Linked DNA regions of Homo sapiens: all the other regions are linked to region 1. Evidence: promoter capture Hi-C in 16 types of primary human blood cells and fetal thymus (Javierre and others, 2016). All regions are on one chromosome and are shown on one strand. The core of a region is centred on a gene start or on the middle of the fragment in contact, and the rest is flanking DNA. Distances in the headings are between cores, read along the strand shown. Region 1 holds the start of GPX7 (glutathione peroxidase 7). Region 2 overlaps TUT4 (terminal uridylyl transferase 4). Region 3 overlaps TUT4 (terminal uridylyl transferase 4). Region 4 overlaps TUT4 (terminal uridylyl transferase 4).

What was found. Contacts are between HindIII fragments. The CHiCAGO score rates a contact against its expected background, and 5 or more counts as called.
Region 2: a contact is called between a fragment that was not itself captured here and the fragment with the promoter of GPX7 in region 1, in 2 of 17 cell types (naive B cells and total B cells). The highest score is 5.6, in naive B cells.
Region 3: a fragment that was not itself captured here is called in contact with the fragment with the promoter of GPX7 in region 1 in 3 of 17 cell types (naive B cells, total B cells and total CD8 T cells); the score reaches 6.1 in naive B cells.
Region 4: a fragment that was not itself captured here is called in contact with the fragment with the promoter of GPX7 in region 1 in 1 of 17 cell types (total B cells); the score reaches 5.5 in total B cells.

Annotation. Positions count from the first base shown.
Region 1 is chr1:52,601,047-52,603,714 of GRCh38, forward strand. GPX7 (glutathione peroxidase 7) reads left to right here and starts at 1,325. Exons shown (of 3, transcript NM_015696.5): 1 at 1,325-1,501. The coding sequence starts at 1,364. The HindIII fragment of the contact is 11,376 bases long and covers 1-2,668 here.
Region 2 is chr1:52,488,733-52,491,400 of GRCh38, forward strand. It overlaps TUT4 (terminal uridylyl transferase 4), which reads right to left. Exons shown (of 30, transcript NM_001009881.3): 8 at 2,000-2,069; 9 at 177-303. Among named protein-coding and RNA genes, the nearest start is that of TUT4, 63 kb to the right of the region's middle. The HindIII fragment of the contact is 1,081 bases long and covers 768-1,848 here.
Region 3 is chr1:52,505,726-52,508,393 of GRCh38, forward strand. The region is part of intron 4 of TUT4 (terminal uridylyl transferase 4); the gene reads right to left. Among named protein-coding and RNA genes, the nearest start is that of TUT4, 46 kb to the right of the region's middle. The HindIII fragment of the contact is 256 bases long and covers 1,189-1,444 here.
Region 4 is chr1:52,527,062-52,529,729 of GRCh38, forward strand. All of the region lies in intron 1 of TUT4 (terminal uridylyl transferase 4), which reads right to left. Among named protein-coding and RNA genes, the nearest start is that of TUT4, 25 kb to the right of the region's middle. The HindIII fragment of the contact is 6,606 bases long and covers 1-2,668 here.

The sequences.
Region 1 (2,668 bases), core at 75-2,574:
TCCTGACCAATTTCTCCTCATTCTTCAGAGCTCAGCTCAAATCTCCCTTTTTCTGGAAAGCCCTCCATGGCCCTCCAGGCTAGTTTAGGTGGTACTCACCACAACAGTAATTTTAGAGCTATTTATAAATTATTTAATTCCTGTGTCTCCCTGGATAGAGATAATGCCCTCCTGTTCATCCCTGCCTAAGAATCACCTAAAGCAAAACTTGGCATAGAAAAGGTGCTCAGGAAGTTTTTGTTGATGACCACAGGAGTGCTTAGCCCTTACCACATTACATAAAATCTGCAGTTTACCTGGTTTCTCTCACACCAGTCTGTGAGTTTCCAGAAAAAACTCACAGCCTGTGAGTACAGGATCCAGCTCCATGTTTGACATTTCATGGGCTCAACAGGGGTTTTCTGAGCAGGGGGAGACATTGTGATGTGCTGCCCAGATCCCCCATCACTGAGGACTTAGGACAGACACCAGCTGCTAGGAGTGCTGTTAGCACAAAGCCTTTAATGTCAGCTTCTCCACAGACAGGGCCATCTTGGCCCTTGTTGCCCCACTTGCCAGGTGGCCCCACATCCAAGGACTGATAAAGGCAGGATGACCTGGCCATCTTAGCTCATCTGATGGGCTACTCTAGCTCTAGAGTCCCTGTCGAGTCAGCTAAAACTGTCTTGGGGCCTGCATGGAGCTCACTACTTTCCCCCTGTGCCACTCCTGTTCCCTCCCATCCTTCCCACGCCTGTTGATCCCAAGGGTGCTCCCTCATAAACATCCTGCACTCCAATCTCCATCTCAGAATCTGCTTCCAGGAACCTAACCTGCAACAGGCCCACGGTCCTCTCTTCTTCTCCCAGCCATCACTTTCAGGGAACATGCATTCATTCACCTGAAGTTTGCAGGCACCATTCAACTGTTAAAGTGTTTCGCATCCGTTTTTCTATTACTTCCATCCTATACCGACTAGCTCCACTTAACATGTGGAGAAACTGAGGTCGGAGTGGGGGCGTGACCAGGCCAGCCTAAGGCCGCTGCACTAATGAGAAGCTGAGCTCTCAGATTTTTGCCTCCCTGTCCCTGCCAAGTCGCTGTTTCCTGGGACAAGAGGGAGCCTCACTGAAACGAACTCCGGTCTCAGGGGACAGAATCCTGAAACCCTGGCTCTGGGGTCCGGGGCAGGGGTGCGCTGCCTCAGGACAGACGGTGAAACTGAGGTCCAGAGCCGGACATCCACCGCCTGCGGAGGGAACGAGAACGCGGCGCGTCCTGCCTTGCGGGCCGAGCGGCGCCAGAGCCGCCTCCTCCCGCCCCCCGCGCTAGATCCCCCCGCCCCGTCTTTGCCCTCGCGACGCCGCCACCTCCGGAACAAGCCATGGTGGCGGCGACGGTGGCAGCGGCGTGGCTGCTCCTGTGGGCTGCGGCCTGCGCGCAGCAGGAGCAGGACTTCTACGACTTCAAGGCGGTCAACATCCGGGGCAAACTGGTGTCGCTGGAGAAGTACCGCGGATCGGTGAGTGCGCGGGGTCTGGCGGCGCCGCTGGGCCCGGCCTCGCCCTGGCGGGGCCTGCTGGGGACGCCCCGCAGCCCGGTCCCCCGCGCGGTGTGGCTCCGAGGACGCTCCAGCCGCGCGGCCGCCAAACCCCGGCCCCCGCCCCGCTCGGCCGTGACCTCTGGCGCGGCGCCCCCATCCCGCGCCCGGCCCGGCCCGGCCCGCGGCTACGTGGCACGGCCTTGGCGCGGAGGAACCCGAAGCGCTCGCAGTCGGCGCCCACTTCGCTACCGGCACCTTTGGGCAGCGGGGTCCAGACCTTCGCCGGGAGGCCGGGCACCACTGCCCAGCCTTTGCCATTCACGGGTGAAAAAAGTAACCGTAGCATCGTGCGGCCTTTCCCTCTCCCGTCCTCATTTTCTGCATCTGGAACGGGGAGTGGCTGATTCGGAGTCCAGTGAAGAACACTGTGGAGATCAATGTGCAGGGCAGAGAGAGAGTTATTTCAGATGCACGGAGACCTCACACGGATCATCCCTGGGAGAGGGCACAAAGGCCCAGAGAGGGCAGGCATTCGCACAAGGTCACACTACACTAGAAAGACGGGGCCTGGAAGAGAACCCCACCGCCACATCCGGGGTCCTCTCTAGGCCAAGTCCTTAGATGGCAGCTCAGGGGCACACATAAGAGTCATCCAGGCTAATTGCCCCCTCATTACCAAGAGGGAATCTAAGCTCAGAGAAGACTTCGGAGAGGAAGGGTATCTGGGTTGAGTCTTTGAATACGAGTGGATTTTAGCAAGACTAAGAAGCAAACAGCAAGAAGGGGGTGGGGGGGCGCGGGGCCAGGAGTTCCAGCTGTTGTGCTTCAAAGAGTCTAAAGCTGGAGGCTACGAGTGGTGGAAGATGAGGCTGAAACGACTGGCAAGGGAGCAGGCGGGACCTTGAACACTACATTGAGAGGCCTGCATGTCACATTATGTGCAGTGAAGAACTCCCAGAGTGGACCTCTTCAGGATGGACCTGGGGACTGGTGTGAAATGGCTGGGGAGTTGAAATCTAATGAACAGGTGGGCCAGCGTCCAGTTTTGGATGAACCACACAAAAATAGATGTCAACATTTTTCTCCTGGGAGCAACACCATCTTTAGTGAAGACCAGTACTCTATAAGCCTTGAAATTTTCGATTA
Region 2 (2,668 bases), core at 58-2,557, 110 kb before region 1:
TTTATGTCCATAAATTACAACCTGCCACACCAACTTTCTGTCTAGCACAGAAAACTACTTTCTCCCACATGTTATGATTGATGTTACATGTCAGTACAAGAAAAGGCCTAATTTTGAAGATTAAATACATTTCCTTCTAAAAATATAAATAAGTAGTTTTCCTCTCTTTCACTTACCTTAGCCCAGTAGCGAAAGGCTAACACCAAGGGAATAAAGACAGGTTCTATTTTGCCAAGGGCAGTAAGTAAATCAGTAGTGAGACATGCCATATCGTTTCCTGCACTCACTCTACAAAGTAAACCACTGTGAATGAGAAAGAAACAAATTTCATTGTATTAATACCCTTAAAAGCAGAATACTTCAAATCCTGTGGCTATTTTCTTTCTAGTTATCATATTGTAACATAGTACCGTAAAAGCCCTAATAAAAACAAATGTTTTAATAAATTTAGAGCTAACTGAAAACTACATGTCATTCCATAACTAGAGTTCCATACGAATTAAAGAAAGATGTTTTTAACATTCATTTGTACTTCAGAAATAAATTTCAACCAAACTTAGTATTTAAGTTAATGAGAAATTAATTTCAAAAGCAGCATTATGAATTATCAAAACTGATATACATGAGAGACAGGGCACTGATCTCTTCAATGTCAAATAGTGCAAGGTAATTTCCTAGTTCAATCCTCTTGCTTTCTACATGATAATAGCAAAAAATGAATACTTAACTGACTGGCTATACTTCTTGACTCTAATTTTTCCTATCCAAGCTTTCACAATTGTACTAATATGTTATTTTCAGAGTAAAGATTAGACAGGATTTGCAGATTAACCCACAAATTATACTTCTGTGTAAGTGAAAATAGCAGCAACCTTAAATGGGATGACAGAAGTGTAGTGAAGATATTTTGAAAGCAGGGAGAAGAATAAATCTGAGGTGTCACACACAGGCAATTTAACACAATGTGGCAGAAAAAACACTAAAGGTCACTTTGCCTCCATTTTCCAATTATAGTTTCCCCCTCAATGATGTGAATCTAGACAAACTGATAAACCACTCCAGGTCCCATTTTTCTAGTTTAGAAAATAAATCTGAACTAGATCGCCATAGACTCATCTAGCTTTGAATAAGAAAATACCTTGATCTTAAAATATAATACAAGTTAATAATCAATAAAAGAATATCATTTCTGTATTGTTTCCATGTCTCCCACACTACTTTCAAATAGGATTTAGTTTCTGCTTTCAAAGGCACTTTGATCTCTTAGACTTATAGACATCTAACTAGAAAGGCAAGATCAGTCTTCAATTTAGGACTGATCTTGAGTTTATTCAATTTAAATCAACTCATTCAATGTAAGTGAAATAAAAACTAAACTCTAAATTCTAATGGATTGTGAGATCCTTGAGAAGAGAGGCTTTTTTTTTTTTTTTTTTGAGACAGGGTCTCACTCTGTCACCCAGGCTGGAGTGCAGTGGCACAATCACGGCTCACTGCAGCCTCAACCTCCCAGGCTCAGGCCATCCTCCCACCTCAGCCTCCCGAGTAGCTGGGACCACAGGCACACACACCCACCATGCCTGGCTGATTTTTTTATTTTTTTTGTGGAGACAAGGTCTCACTATGTTGCCCAGGCTAGTCTTGAATTCCTGGGCTCAAGTGACTGAAGAGAGGCTATTTCTTCTTTATGTCTGTATCCATAGAGCAAAGTAGTACCTGCATATAAGTAAATGCAATACTCTTGGGTGAGTGAATGACTTGAAAAAAAAAAAATTGAAGTTTTGCCTAGAGTATTTTATTTTCAACTGTCTGATGTTCTATATATTTCTTGTTCACATGCATTTGGTAAGCTTGCTATTTTTAATGAATAGAAACTAGCTTAGTCATATTCATCCAAGGAGAAATCTAAAACAAAAACTTTTTCTCTTAAAGATCATTCACTACAAATTTGGTTGTTGGGGTTTGTTTTTTTAAATATTTTATCTTCATTGTTACCAACCTTTTTCGATCTCTGCACACCACAACAGGAACTTTAGCGTGAAAATCAGATTCCACATCTACATATAATACTAATAAGGAAAAAAAAAAGTAAGCTAATGTCAACATCTCTAAAATACGTACTCTACAGTAAACATTAAGTAACAGTTTCCTTCTGAAAATTATTCTCATTGCTTCTGTGGGATAATCCACTCTTCTCATTATGAGCACCAACCCAGCGAAATCTCTTACCTCTCCTGGTGTCATTTGCTGTATATCACAAACCACAGGTACAGCCCCAAATACTGTCCAAAAATTATAATCACCTTAAGAAAGGTCTTAACATCCCTAAAAGTTTTAATATTTCCAAGTAAGTAGATAATCTAGTCAAAGTTGTTAAACCTTCATAGATAACAGCAAAGAGAGGACACCCCTTACTCCTGAGAGCTAGTTCCACAGGAGCCATGAAAGGAGGACCTATCATGCTTTGACAGTTTAGTTCTTTTAAATTACCAATGTAATTACAACCTAACTCTTCAGGCCACATTTCCCGTTAGTATATGAAGAGTTTGCCTAATCAAAGCTGCTAAGGAAGGACTAACCGGATGAAGCACATTTCTACCCTGAAATCTTTCTCTGTATCTCCAAGGGTAAGCCCCATGCCATAAATGTCTAATCTAAATAAAAACAG
Region 3 (2,668 bases), core at 67-2,566, 95 kb before region 1:
TTAGACTTTTTATCAAAGCATTTTTGAAAACGCTTTTTCAGCATCTACTGAGATAATCACATAGTTTTCTCTGTTTGCTAACATGGTAAATCACAATGAGCGGGGTTTTTTTTGTTTTTGTTGTTTTTTGAGATGAAGTCTTGCTCTGTTGCCCAGGCTGGAGTGCAGTGGCACGATCTGAGCTTACTGCAACCTCAACTTTCTGGGTTCAGCCTCCCAAGTAGCTGGGATTTCAGGCATGAGCCACGATGCCCAGCTAATTTTTGTATTTTTAGTAGAGACGGGGTTCACCATGTTGGCCAGGCTGGTCTCGAACTCCTAACCTCAGGTGATCCGCCCTCCTCAGCCTCCCAAAGTGCTAGGATTACAGGCCTGAGCTACTGCGCCTGGCCAATGAGGGATTTTTTAATGTAAAACTAACACTGCACTCCTGGAATAAAGCCCCACTTGATCATGACACATTCATTCCTCTAATATGCTGTTGGATTCAATTGGCTAAAGTTATATTTAGAATTTCTGCATCTATGTTCATGAGGAGTTTTGGCCTAAAGTTTTCTTTCTTTTTTTTTCTCCCGTCGGAGTCAACAAGTTAAGAATAAAGTTTTCCTTTATTGCAATATGTCTCTGGTTTGAATATCAGAGTTACGTGGACCTCATATTCACAGACTGAACTGGGAAGTATTTCTCCTCTTCAGTGTTCTGGAAAAATTTGTACAGAACAAGTACATGTATATTGATCAATTATCCAGAGCTCATTAACTTTTTTCTTTTTGTTTAATTTTTTCTTTCTGTGTTTCACTCTGGTGGTTTCCACTGCTTATCTTCAAGAGTTCACTAACCTTTTCTTTTGCAATGTTTGATGTACTATTATTCCTACCCAATATAGTTTTAATCTTAGATGTCGTAGTTTTCGTTTCTAATAGTCCTGTTCATATCTTTTTTATATTTTCCATGTCTCTACTTCATCTCTGAAACATCAAGAATACAGTTATATTAACTGTCTTACTGTCCTTCTCTGCTAATCCTAACAAAGGCGTCAGTTCAAGGTCAGTTATTATAGCTGACTTTTCTCTTCATCATGATTTGTATTTTCCTGCCTCTTTGCATACCTGATAATCTTTGACTAAATGCTACATTATGTGAACTTTTTTCAGTGATGAGTATTTTTGTATTTCTGTAATATTCCTAAGCTTTGTTCTGTAATGACATTAAATACTTGGAAACCATTTATCATTTTGAATGTTGCCTTTAAAATATTTTATGTAGGACCAGACCACATTTAGTTTAGGGCTAAATATCCCTACTACTGAAACAAGATTCTTCTGAGTACTCTACCCAGTGTCCCATGAAGCACGAGGCTTTCCAGTCTGGATAGGAAGAAGTCCTGTATGAGCACCAATCACTGGTCTAATTTCCTCTGACAATTCTTTCCCTGGGTTCAGGAAGCTTTTTCATATGCATGCACCAATCAGCATTGTGCTGAATACTTTAAGAGGATCATCCACAGTTCTCTGGATTTCTTTTTGTGCAGTTTTCTCATTTTAGTTACACTGTCCTGTGAATTTTAGCTATCTTGGACTTAGTGCACTCTAAGGTCTCTCTCTTCAACTGTGAGAGTCCACTGGGTTCCCTTCCCTATAGTGCAACCTAGAAACTCTCAAGCTGGAGCCAACATTGGGCTCAGGCCATTTGTTTTTCATTCATTGACTCTGTCGCCTGAAAACCACTGCTTCATATTTCTGTATTTTTTTTTTGTTTGTCATTTCAAGGGAAAAGTAAATCCACTGTTACTCTAACTTCACCAAAAGTATACGTCCTATATGGCTGCATTCAAGTTTGCTTTCTTTTTGTTCATTTCTATAATGTTCTAAAGTTTCCCTATACGGGCTGAGCATCCCTAATCTGAAAATCCAAAATGTGAAATGCTCCAAAATCTGAAGCTTTTAGAACACCAACATGATGCTCAAAGGAAATGCTCATTAAAGTATAATGCAAATATTCCAAAATCTGAAAAAATCCAAAATACTTTGGTCCCAAGCATTTAGGATAAGGTATACTCAATCTGTAATGTGTATAGGTATAGTTTTCCTTTTTCTTTTTTTTGTGATAGAGTCTCGCTCCCTCGCCCAGACTAAAGTGAAGTGGTGTGACCTTGGCTCACTGCAGCCTCCACCTCATGAGTTCAAACAATTCTTATACCTCAGCCTCCCAAGAAGCTGGGATTACAGGCACATGCCACCATGCCCAGCTAATTTTTATGTATTTTTAGTAGAAACAGGGTTTTGCCACGTTGCCCAGGCTGGTCTCAAACTCCTGGGCTCAAGCAACTCACCTGCCTCAGCCTCCCAAAGTGCTGGGATTACAGACCTTAGCCACTGCACCCAGCCTAGGTATGATTTTCTTTTTAAGTTTCTTGCTTGCCCAGGTGAAACCCCGTCTCTATTAAAAATACAAAAATCAGCCAGGCATGGTATGCCTGTAATCCTAGCTACCTGGGAGGCTGAGGCAGGGTAATCGCTTAAACCTGGGAGGCAGAGGTTACAGTGAGCCAAGATTGCACCACTGAACTCCAGCCTGGAAGACAGAGTGAGACTCTGTCTCCAAAAAAAAAAAAAAAAAGGTTTCTTGCTTGCAAGCCCGAGCTTCCTGGAACTAATGATAGGCATCT
Region 4 (2,668 bases), core at 111-2,610, 74 kb before region 1:
AATGAATCCGTTTATGGAATCCTAAATGGTAAAATCTTGCCCACAAGACTTTACCACCAACTAGCATCTATTTGTACCTCTAGCCTACCTCGAACTTACCTCAAACTTGACTCTCTAAATATGGGAAAACAATAGACTTTCTCCACCTTGAAGTAAAAACGGGTTCAAATGAATTCGCTGAAGTATACTTTAAAAACCAACAGGGGCCGGGTGCAATGGCTCATGCCTGTAATCCCAACACTTTGGGAGGCCAAGGCGGGCGGATCACGAGGTCAGGAGTTCAAGACCAGCCTGACCAACATAGTGAAACCCTGTCTCTACTAAAAACACAAATATCAGCTGGGCGTGGTGGCACATGCCTGTAATCCCAGCTACTCGGGAGGCTGAGGCAGGAGAATTGCTTGAACCGGGACCCAGGAGGCGGAGGTTGCAGTGAGCCAAGATCGCACCACTGCACTCCAGCCTGGGCCACAGAGTAAGACTCTGTCTCAAAAACAACAACAACAAAAAGGAACTTAAGAGTTTAAAAAAAAACAAAAGTAATAGTAATAATCTCTATGACACTATAATAGTGAATATCTGTCATTACACATTTGTATAATGATACAAAATGCACATTACCAAGAATGAACCCTAAAGTAAACTATAGACACTGGGTGATAAGGTATCAATGCGGGCCAATGTAGGTTCATCCACTGTAATAAACATGCTACTCTGGTGCCAGATGTTGAAAGTGGGGGAGGCTATGCATGTGTGGATGCAGGGTATATATGGCAACTTTGCACTTTCTGCTCAATTTTGCTGTGAACCTAAAAGTGTTCTAAAAAATAATGTCAGCCAGGCATGGTGCCTCACGCCTGTAATCCCAGCACTTTGGGAGGCCGAGGTGGGCAGATCACAAGGTCAGGAGTTCGAGACCAGCCTGGCCAACATGGTGAAACCCCGTCTCTACTAAAAATACAAAAATTAGCCGGGTACAGTGGTGGGCGCCTGTAAAATCCTACCTATTTAAGAGGCTGAGGCGGGAGAATTGCTTGAACCCGGGAAGCGGAAGTTGCAGTGAACTGAGATCGCGCCACAGCACTCCAGCCTGGGTGACAGAGCAAGACTCCATCTCGAAAAAAATAATAATAATAATAATAATAATGTCAAGGCCAGGCACATGGCTCACACCTGTAATCCCAACATTTTGGGAGGCCGAGGCTGGCGGATTGAGTCCAGGAGTTCAAGACCAGCCTGGACAACATGGTGAAACCCCATCTTTACAAAGAAAACAAAAATTAGCCGGCCACTGTGGCATGCGCCTGTAGTCCCAGCTACTTAGGAGGCTGAGGTGGGAGGATCGCTTGAGACCAGGAGGCAGAGGTTGCGGTGAGCCAAGATTGCATTCCTGCATTCCAGTCTGGGCAACAGAGTGAGACCCTGTCTCAAAAAAAAAAAAAAAAAGTGATTTTATTAAAAAATCAGGATGTTTTTTACTATTCACTTTGCCCTATACACCTTAAATTCAGATCCGTTTCTAAACAAACATTAATAATATGAATAAAAATTAGAGTCCTTCTGCCAGCAAAAGCAAACTGCATAGAATTAAAATGTACCATCTTTGATTTTACTTGGTTGATTTACTAAATTACAAATTTAGGTAAACATCTCTATCATATAACTTTACATCATATAAACAAAAAAATCCTACCTAAAATAAAGAGTTCACTCTTTAATAATCACTCACTGCAGCCTGGAACTCCTGGGCTCAAATGATCCTCCTGCCTCAGCCTCCCAAGCAACTAAGAACACAGGCGCACACCACCACACCTGGCTAATTTTTTTTTGTTGTAGAGACAAAGTCTCACTATGTTGCTCAGGCTTGTCTCAAACTCATGGCCTCAAGTGACCCTCCCATCTCAGTCTCCCAAAGCACTGGGATTACAGGAATGAGCCACCACACTTGGCCAATAATTCTTCTTTATAGTGCAGTCCTCTACATTCTCTGCCTTGCTTTTCCAGAGTAATACTGTCTTTTACTTTAAAAATGTATTAGGTTCTTCTTTCTAAATTATTATAATGAAAACTAAAGTCAAAACCACACTAGATATGGTGTCAGTTGGAGTCTAGCAAAGTATATTTAAAAATTTTTTAATTAAAAAAAATTTTAAACCACACTACATTTTCACCATTAATATTTTGACTAACATTTTCCAGTAAAAGCTATAGAAACTTACAACTGCAAAAGAATGCTTTTGCTCCTAATTTTTATACATATGAATTTGTTTAATTAATACATTTTGCTTTTATTATTCTTGATAAGGTGTTTTACATAACTGTCAGAAAAGTTGTCAAAACATATGACTATTTCTAAATTCTTGTGAGAACTGCTGCAGGTTCCTCACTTTAACAACTAAAATGAGCTCTGTTTCAAAAATTAAAATGAGTTATATTTCTAAAAGATTAGTTTTACCTTGTCTAGTAACCAAAATATCTTTAAATTTTTAATGCTAGTCTGCTATAACGATTCTTTAATAATTTTGTAGATGTCATCTGACAAAAGCCATAAAACAACAAAGATTTGAAATAACAATGCTGATTCACAATTTTGCTTGTAAAACATTTTAGACAATTTATTCATCCACTTAAAAAATACTCCATAAATCAAGTTTGTATACATAAACAA